Regions from separate parts of the Homo sapiens genome. Here region 2 is linked to region 1. The links are contacts of gene promoters, found by promoter capture Hi-C in human tissues and cell types (Jung and others, 2019). All regions are on one chromosome and are shown on one strand. Each heading gives the region's core, a stretch centred on a gene start or on the middle of the fragment in contact. The rest is flanking DNA. Distances are from core to core; before and after follow the strand shown. Region 1 holds the start of CALCOCO1 (calcium binding and coiled-coil domain 1). Region 2 holds the start of PRR13 (proline rich 13).

Region 1 (4,166 bases), core at 896-3,395:
CACCTCCTTCCCCCCACAGCTCCAGCACCACACACTCACAGCCCCTGCCACTACACCTGGAGATAAGGCATACCTGGTTTCTAGTCCCTGAGGGTTACGGGACATTTTTGAGGTATCACTCTTAGTCTCTAGGACGTAGGTCTGGCCTTCCAAGTCCGTCCCCATCCTGTCTCACACTGTACCCGCTCTGGCTCATAGACCCTTCTGAGGGTTCAGACTTCTCTAATTTTGCTCCCAAAAGGACACTGACGGGGACAGAGCCTGGGATACTGCGACTTGGTCGACAGCCTCCATTTCTCCATCCCATCTCCCACACATCCTGGCTCTTGAATACAAAATCCAACTGAGGTGTGGGGCCCTCTCATTGAGAGAGGTGTCCTTACCTACTCCTAAGCTTGTTGACCCAGCTGTATCCAGGAATGAGTTATGACATCAGAAAGCAGCAACTAATCTCTGAAAGGAATGGTTGAGTTTTCAGAGCTAGAATATGGCTGGGGGTCGAGGGGAACTGAGCCCAAATCCTTAGGCTCCTGAGCTCTCAGCTCTTTTCATCTCTCTGAGCTGCCTACCCCCATGAATTCTAGGGAAGCAGAAAGCTTCTGCTGGCATCCAAGAGACAAAGGGAAGGGGAGGATATAAGGAAAGACAGGTTCTGTCCCTTGACTTATTATTCCAGGAAGTCAAGAATTCTGGAGGCGGCAACTTCAAGGGTGGAGTGAGGCGCTTAGCAGGAACGTGGTGGGGGTGGGGAGATGGAATGTGGGGGCCTGGAGCCAGGAAAGCCCCACCCCAGGGCAGGGAACAGACTAGAAAGTGGGAAGTAAGGGGCCCCAAGAAGTGGAAATGTATATTTAACGTTGAGGAAAGGGGAGATAGTTCAAAAAGAACCTAACATTCTTCTCTCCAGACTGTGCCTGCAGCAGGACTAGAAACCTACTGGTTTCACTTTAGTATTTCTCTCCTCATTTTCTCTCTGCTCCCCTCAGCCTCCATCCTTCCATCTGTTTGTATTGGTAGCTGGAGACACACTACAGGATGGGGTTGAGAGGAAGGGGTGTTCCAAGTTAGCTGGGGAGAGTTAATTGGAAAATATGAGGGTGGGGTGAGGACAGATAACAATAATAACGATCAAAAGAACTCCTCAGTCCAGGGCTGTGAGATGGCCCTCTTATTCATCACTCCTTTCCAGCCCACTAATCTATTTCCTGTGTCACTCACAGCTGACATGTCCAACCAGCCATTGTCACTAGTCATATGCACGCCCCCAAACATCACAAACCCACACCAGGCTGAAGTCCAGGGGACAGGAACTTTAAAAGAAAACAGAAACTCAGTGGATAAAGGTGAGCCAGCAACACAAAAAGGAGCAACTTCTGTCCCCCAAATAGGTAGAACAAAAAGTTTTTTTTAATGTTCATCTCCCTGAAAAATTCCTGGTTGAAACTAATCCATGTTTTCTCCAAATGCAATTCTTCCAGCTTTCTAAGGGTGGGGGTAAATTGTCCCCAAAGATATACCTGGAGAACCCTAAAATACACCCCACAAAGAAAATCCGTAACAGCTGTAAACGTTCTTCATGTCCGAAAGAAAGTTTTGGGCACCTAAGATGTAGGTGTGTAGCCTGATTCAGATGTTCACATGATGGGGCGGAGAGCGGGTGTCCCATCCCCTACTCTGTAGGGCTCTAGAGTTCCTTGACATTCTACACCTTGGAAGGTCCCCCTTCCTCCCCAGGGATTCAGCGTCGTAAAGGCCTTTGGATTTGCGTAGGGGAGAGAGGGAAGACGTGTAGGGGACACGTCTTGCCTGGGAGCGAATAAGCAGATTTCAGCTCCCTTGAAGGGATCAGCTTTATAGAGACGCATTGAGAAGAAGGAGAGGACGACGAGGGGGCGCCCCCCACCCCCAATCAGAGTCCCCTTGAAACCAAGAACTCCCCAAACAGCGGGGGTGGCTTCTCCAGTACGGAAAGGGTTACAACCCAAACGCTCCTGTATTCCCCTTCGACAGTTCCCTTACGTTATCCTTCCCCAAACTGGAAAGTGGGGTGACCCTCCCCTCCCATAAGATCGCCCCCAATTAGGCCAAGTTTCTTACCCAACAGACGGATCAGCTGTTCCCCTCACCTTTCACCAACAACAAAAACAGCACTCCGACTTCTGGAGGGGAGGGAGAAGAGTGGGCGCGAGGGCTTCTGGGGTTTGTGGTTCTTCTGCGCCCTTTTGCCGCTGCGTGCTCGGATCTAGGACTATACATCCCAGAAGGCTGCGCGCAAGGAGGGCGGGGAAGAGGGCGTCCGTGACGGCGGCCTCACCGCGGCATCCTGGGAGGCGTAGTTCTCACTCCTATGACAGAAAACGAGGGTGTGGCCAGCAAAGGACTTCAAGGCCCATGATCCCTTAGGAGGGGGCCGGCTGCATTAGGGGTGGCTGCTGGTTTGTAACGTGCGTTGTTGGGGGCTGGGGAGGATTTACGGCTCTAAAGCCTTCCATATAACGCTTTAACGGTGGGCAGAGCGGTTTCTGTTGCGTCCCGTCCTGTACTTTTCGCACCCACCTGTGAGATAGGCGTTAAGCGTTATGCACGCTTTATAGATGTAGAAAGTGAAGTACGGTTAAGGAGGCGGTGTGAAGTGTCAAAGCTATGAAATGTAGAACTGCATTAGCCTTGGCTAATTCCACGTCATATATTCTTGCCACTACACCACAGCTACCCACCATTTTGGGGATGGGAAACTGATAGCTGGGGTATAGCAGTTTCTTCTTTACTTCAATCTCAGGGACAGACCTTGTAAGAATGATGTCTTCTGCACAGCTGACCATTTTTTTCCAACTTGAGGATTTCAGTGCTAAGGGGCCTGACCATATCCACATCTGGACTGGGCTCCCCCAGAGTGGCTTCTGGGTCTAGGAAGAGGATACAATTGACTGAGGTGGTGGTAGGAGCGGTGGAATGAGAAGAATGAAATTGAAAAGGGAGCTTGGCATAATTCAGGACCTGTCACAATTCACAAACAAGCCACTTATGGGGCCTGTTTGCCCAAGCCTTTTAAGTGGCTTAAATTAATTAGGATAACAATACATGTTGACGTTCCGGTTTTTATTTAGGAGAGGTGAAAGATTGACACGTCTCCCACACCCCAAGTCACGTTATAGACTTGGGCATCCTGTCCCCCCTCTCGCTATTCTCCATCCCTGTAGTCGGAGGCATTCAGAATTACCTCTTTCTCTGGCTCTGCATTAAAGGATTACAGTCTTAAGGATTGATTTCCTCTTCCTAGGTGCCTGCTTTAATTCTCTACTGCACTAAGTTATGGAGCTTCTGCCTTTTCCAAGTTTTTTGGTAGTGTTTTGCTTTTATGACTGAATGCGGTGTCTGCCCTCAGTGTCTTTCATCTGAAGATCTCCAGGCACTTAAAAATTAGTTACTGGGCTGCACAAACATTAAGGTGATGTGTCTGTGTCATTAGTCAGGATTTATGAGTTAGGGAACCAGTTTCTGGATGAGGAGGTAGCTCAAGGTCTGGAGTGGGTTAAGAGTGAGGTCTGTTCAAGGACCCAAGTCTCAAGAGTTCTTGGCTCTTGTCTTCCGCCCAAAATAAAGGTCTACGAGAAAACAGTCTCGGAGCTAAAAATGGTAACAACTTCCATTTCTTGGGTGCTTATGATCTGTTCAAACTATGCTAAGAATTTTCCCATTTAATACAACAGGCTTATGTAATACGCCTTGTTATTATCCCCATTTTACACATGATGAGATTGAGGCACAATTAATGACTTGCCTGGAGTCATCCAGCTAGTGAGTGGCAGAATCAAGATTTAAGCACAAGCAGTCACCATACTCCCAGTCCAGAAACTCTGGCATGTGATACTAACTCCCATTGTTCTAAGGAACAGTGCTGGTTCATTAACAGGAGACAAATGTTCACTGAGCATTTATGTGCTCAGTGCAAGGCACAAAGTAATGTGAAACAGATTCATTCAACAAATATGTGGCAGGTACTATGCTAGGTATTCAGTTACTTTTATTGAAAGAATGAATAGTAAATATTCATTATTTTAAAATAATATATGTAATTCATTATTTTAAAATAATAAATGTAATTCATTATTTTAATTATAGTCATTACTTTCAAATATTCAAGTATTTGAAGGATAGATTAAATT
Region 2 (4,166 bases), core at 790-3,289, 290 kb before region 1:
TGGAATTAATCCAAATGCCCATCAACAATAGACTGAAAAACTGTGGTACATATATACCATGGAATACTATGTAGCCATAAAAAGGAATGAGATCATGTCCTTTATAGGGACATGGATGAAGCTGGAAGCCATTAACCTCAGCAAACTCATGCAGGAACATGTTCTCACTCAAGTGGGAGCTACACAGTAAGAACACATGGACACAAGGAGGGGAACAACACACACTGGGGCCTGTTGGGGGGTAGGGTCAGGGGAGTGAGAATATTAGGAAAAATAGCTAATGCATGCTGGGCTTAATACCTAGCTGATGGGTTTATTGGTGCAGCAAAATTTGTGCAGCAAACCAGCATGGCACACATTTAACTATGTAACAAACCTGCACATCATGCACATGTACCCCAGCACTAAAAATAAAAATTAAAAGAAAAAAAGTTTAAAATATTTCAAATGCTTTAGTTTAATATGACATATTTGGCATAAAATTTATTGTCTTAAATTTTTTTGTATCCCACTTTTTTTTTTTTTTTTTTTTGAAACAGAGTCCTGCTCTGTTGCTTAGTCTGGAGTGCAGTGGCATGATCTTGGCTCACTGCACCCTCTCCCTCCCAGGTTCAAGCGATTCTCATGCCTCAGCCTTCCCACTAGCTGGGATTACAGGTATGTGCCACCATGCCTAGCTCACTTTCTTTCTTTCTTTCTTTCTTTTTTTTTTTGAGATGGAGTCTCGCTCTGTTGCCCAGGCTGGAGTGCTATGGCGTGATCTCGGTTCACTGCAACCTCCCGGGTTCAAGCGATTCTCCTGCCTCAGCCTCTCAAGTGGCTGGGATTACAGGCACATGTCACCACGCCCGGCTAATTTTTGTATTTTTAGTAGAAACGGGGTTTTACCATATTGGCCAGGCTGGTCTCGAACTCCTGACCTTGTGATCCGCCTGCCTCGGCCTCCCAAAGTGCTGGGATTACAGGCGTGAGCCACTGCGCCCGGCCACTTGTATTTTTTTTTTTTTTTTAAAGGCTGGGTACGGTGGCTCACGCCTATAATCCCAGCACTTTGGGAGGCCGAGGCGGGCAGATCACGAAGTCAAGAGAGCGAGACCATCCTGGCCAACATGGTGAAATCCCATCTCTACTAAAAAATAGAAAAATTAGCCGCGTCTGTAGTCCCAGCTACTTCGGAGGCTGAGGCAGGATTATCGCTTGAACCCGGGAAGCGGAGGTTGCAGTGAGCCGAGGTCGCACCACTGCACTCCAGCCTCGTGACAGAGCGAGACTCCGTCTCAAAAAAAAAAAAAAAAAAAAAAAGGGAGGCCATTGTAGGGAGGCCATTGTAGCAATTCAGGGGAGAGATGAATCCAGGCGACAGATGATGGGAGGTTTGGAGCAGGGAAGACAGAGAGAAGTGGAGAGATTCCAGATATATTTGAGAGACAAAACTGATAATTTGGGGTAAGGGAGGTGAAGGAGGCAGAGGGATCACGGACGCCCTCCTTGGTTTCTGGTTTAGGCTACTTGACAGATGGCGGAGCTATGCAATTGAGAGAGGGAATCCTGGGAGAGATTATGAAATCTCTGTATCTTCCGCAAGAATGTTTGTTTGCTTCCCTTGCGAGTGTAAGACGGAGCCGGGAACATTGAGGCTTGGGGCTGGGACTCAGCAGCTCTTCTGCCCTTGCCGAGAACTCTGTCTATATCTGTATTACAACACTTACCATAGTGTATTCATTTTACAAGGTATTGCACCCAGTGAACCATGAGGTAAGAGAGCAAGGGAAGAGTTTCTTCTCGGTGTCTCTAGGACTTTGCCCAGCAGCTGGCCCCGCCCCCTCCAGCGCTCTCCGCCTAGCCCCGCCCCCAGGAGATTTCCGGCTTCTCGGTACTGGCCTAGCCGTAAAGGGCTCCGCTCCGCCCCTAGAGCAACCGTTTCCTCCTCAGTCGGACCAGAGTGATTGATTAGTTTGTTGTCTAATCATCAGTCGAGCGGCCACATAATTACCAATTAGGCAGTAGCAGAGGCGGGTGCCGAAGCACGGGGTCTGGGTGACTAGGAAGAGCCGAGACTGCGAAGGAGAACGCAGCAAGCCCAGGCGGCGGTGGAAAGGTGATGGGGTATCTGGATTCCATAGGTTTTTCCTTTTCCCCTTGCTAGGTCAAGAGTCTCTTCGCAGCTTGGGGCTAGGATCTTCATTTGCCTTTTTTCTTTTTTGGAGGAAGGGGGCTGTGTCCACATATTTAAGTATTTGAGGTTCTTGGGCAACTTCCTTCTTACTTCGCCTCGAGGCGTATCCTTTTTTTAGCCTGAGGTGGGGTCCTCCCCAGGGAGAGAGAAAGTTGTTTGAGATCCTTTCTTACTCTGTGCGTGGTTAAAGGCCTCCGTACTCAGTTCCAGGGAAAGGGAGATGAGTGATGGTGGGGCCGAGACTCGCGGGTACTGCCTACTTCCGAAGAGTTAGACGCTTCCACCTGGGTGGAGGGGCCCTGGGAACTAGATTCCTGTGTTAGGAACCAAGTAGGTATTGAGGGCGAAGAAACAAGTGGAAAGAGACATTTCTTTTCTTTTCTTTTCTTTTTGAGACGGTGTCTTGCTCCGTCGCCCAGGCTAGAGTGCAGTGGCGCGGTCTCGGCTCACTGCAACCTCTGCCTCCCGGGTTCAAGCAATTTTCCTGACTCAGCCTCCCGAATAACTGGGATTACAGGTGCCCGCCACCGCGCCCGGCTAATTTTTAGATTTTTAGTAGAGACGGGGTTTCACGATGTTGGCCAGGCTGGTCTCGAACTCTTGACCTCGTGATCCACCCGCCTCGGCCTCCCAAAGTGCTGGGATTACAGGCGTGAGCCACCGCGCCCAGCCAGAAAAGAGACATTTCTTATGTGGAAGTTGTGGTAGTTCTCCAGGTAGGAGAGCCTACTGTGGGGTGGAAGACGTTAGGGCTGGGCTCCGGTGCTAAGTCCACTTCCTACCTCTAGACCGTCATCTTTTTTGCCTCATTTCTTTCTCCTCAGGCTGGAGGACACACCTAAACATGTGGAATCCCAATGCCGGTAGGTGTTTGGGGGTTCTGTTCCACCCCTAACCCTTTTTCTGATGGGCTCTATAACAGGAAGTTTCTGTATCAGCTCCCCTACCCCCGACCTGCTGTACCCGCAAAAGCAAAGTCCTTAGTCTAGAGCTGACCAGTGCTTTTTAATTTAATTTAATTTATTTATTTTTTGAGATGGAGTCTCTGTTGCCCAGGCTCACTGCAACCTCCGCCTCCTGGGTTCAAGCGATTCTCCTGTTTCAGCCTCTGGAGTAGCTGAGATTACAGACGCATGCTATCACGCCCGGCTACTTTTTGTATTTTTAGTAGAGATGGGGGTTTCACAATTTGGCCAGGCTGGTCTCAAACTCATGGCCTCATGAGATCTGTCCACCTCGGCCTCCCAAAGTGCTGGGATTACAGGCGTGAGCCACCGCGCCTGGACTGACCAGTGCTTTTGTCTTCCTCAGAGTTCACTGTCTCCCTCCTCTCCCTAGCCCTTCCAGGGACATTCCCCCTTTTCTCCCCAACTCAAGTTTGTCTCCCCTACCCTCCATTCTTCTTTGTCATCTTTCCGTTTCCCTTTAAGTATTGAGTGAGAAAGAATCTCTTTCTTTTTGTTGTTTGTTGTTGGAGACTCTGGGGAATTCTAATGTTTATTCTCTGCTTCTTCCACCAGGGCAGCCAGGGCCAAATCCATATCCCCCCAATATTGGGTGCCCTGGAGGTTCCAATCCTGCCCACCCACCACCTATTAATCCACCCTTTCCCCCAGGCCCCTGTCCTCCTCCCCCAGGAGCTCCCCATGGCAATCCAGCTTTCCCCCCAGGTGGGCCCCCTCATCCTGTGCCACAGCCAGGGTATCCAGGATGCCAACCGTTGGGTCCCTACCCTCCTCCATACCCACCGCCTGCCCCTGGAATCCCTCCTGTGAATCCCTTGGCTCCTGGCATGGTTGGACCAGCAGTGATAGTAGACAAGAAGATGCAGAAGAAAATGAAGAAAGCTCATAAAAAGATGCACAAGCACCAAAAGCACCACAAGTACCACAAGCATGGCAAGGTCAGTACCCTCTGGAGACTGGCTAGGGAAGGAGTCCCCCCTCAGAGGGACTAGGTAGGCAGGGGTTGGGTGAGGGGGATTCACATT

The links. Contacts are between HindIII fragments. The study calls those that stand out against the background at their distance.
Region 2: a contact is called between the fragment with the promoter of PRR13 here and the fragment with the promoter of CALCOCO1 in region 1, in 1 of the 25 tissues and cell types used here (spleen).

Annotation. Positions count from the first base shown.
Region 1 is chr12:53,725,307-53,729,472 of GRCh38, forward strand. It overlaps CALCOCO1 (calcium binding and coiled-coil domain 1), which reads right to left and starts at 2,146. Exons shown (of 15, transcript NM_020898.3): 1 at 2,098-2,146. LOC105369774 (a long non-coding RNA gene) reads left to right here and starts at 1,273. Exons shown (of 3, transcript XR_944973.3): 1 at 1,273-1,343. RefSeq lists enhancers at 1-921, 2,239-2,298. The HindIII fragment of the contact is 5,999 bases long and covers 1-4,166 here.
Region 2 is chr12:53,439,695-53,443,860 of GRCh38, forward strand. It overlaps PRR13 (proline rich 13), which reads left to right and starts at 2,040. Exons shown (of 4, transcript NM_018457.4): 1 at 2,040-2,098; 2 at 3,001-3,039; 3 at 3,697-4,079. The coding sequence starts at 3,021. RefSeq lists enhancers at 1,012-1,777, 1,508-1,597 and a silencer at 1,888-2,037. The HindIII fragment of the contact is 13,829 bases long and covers 1-4,166 here.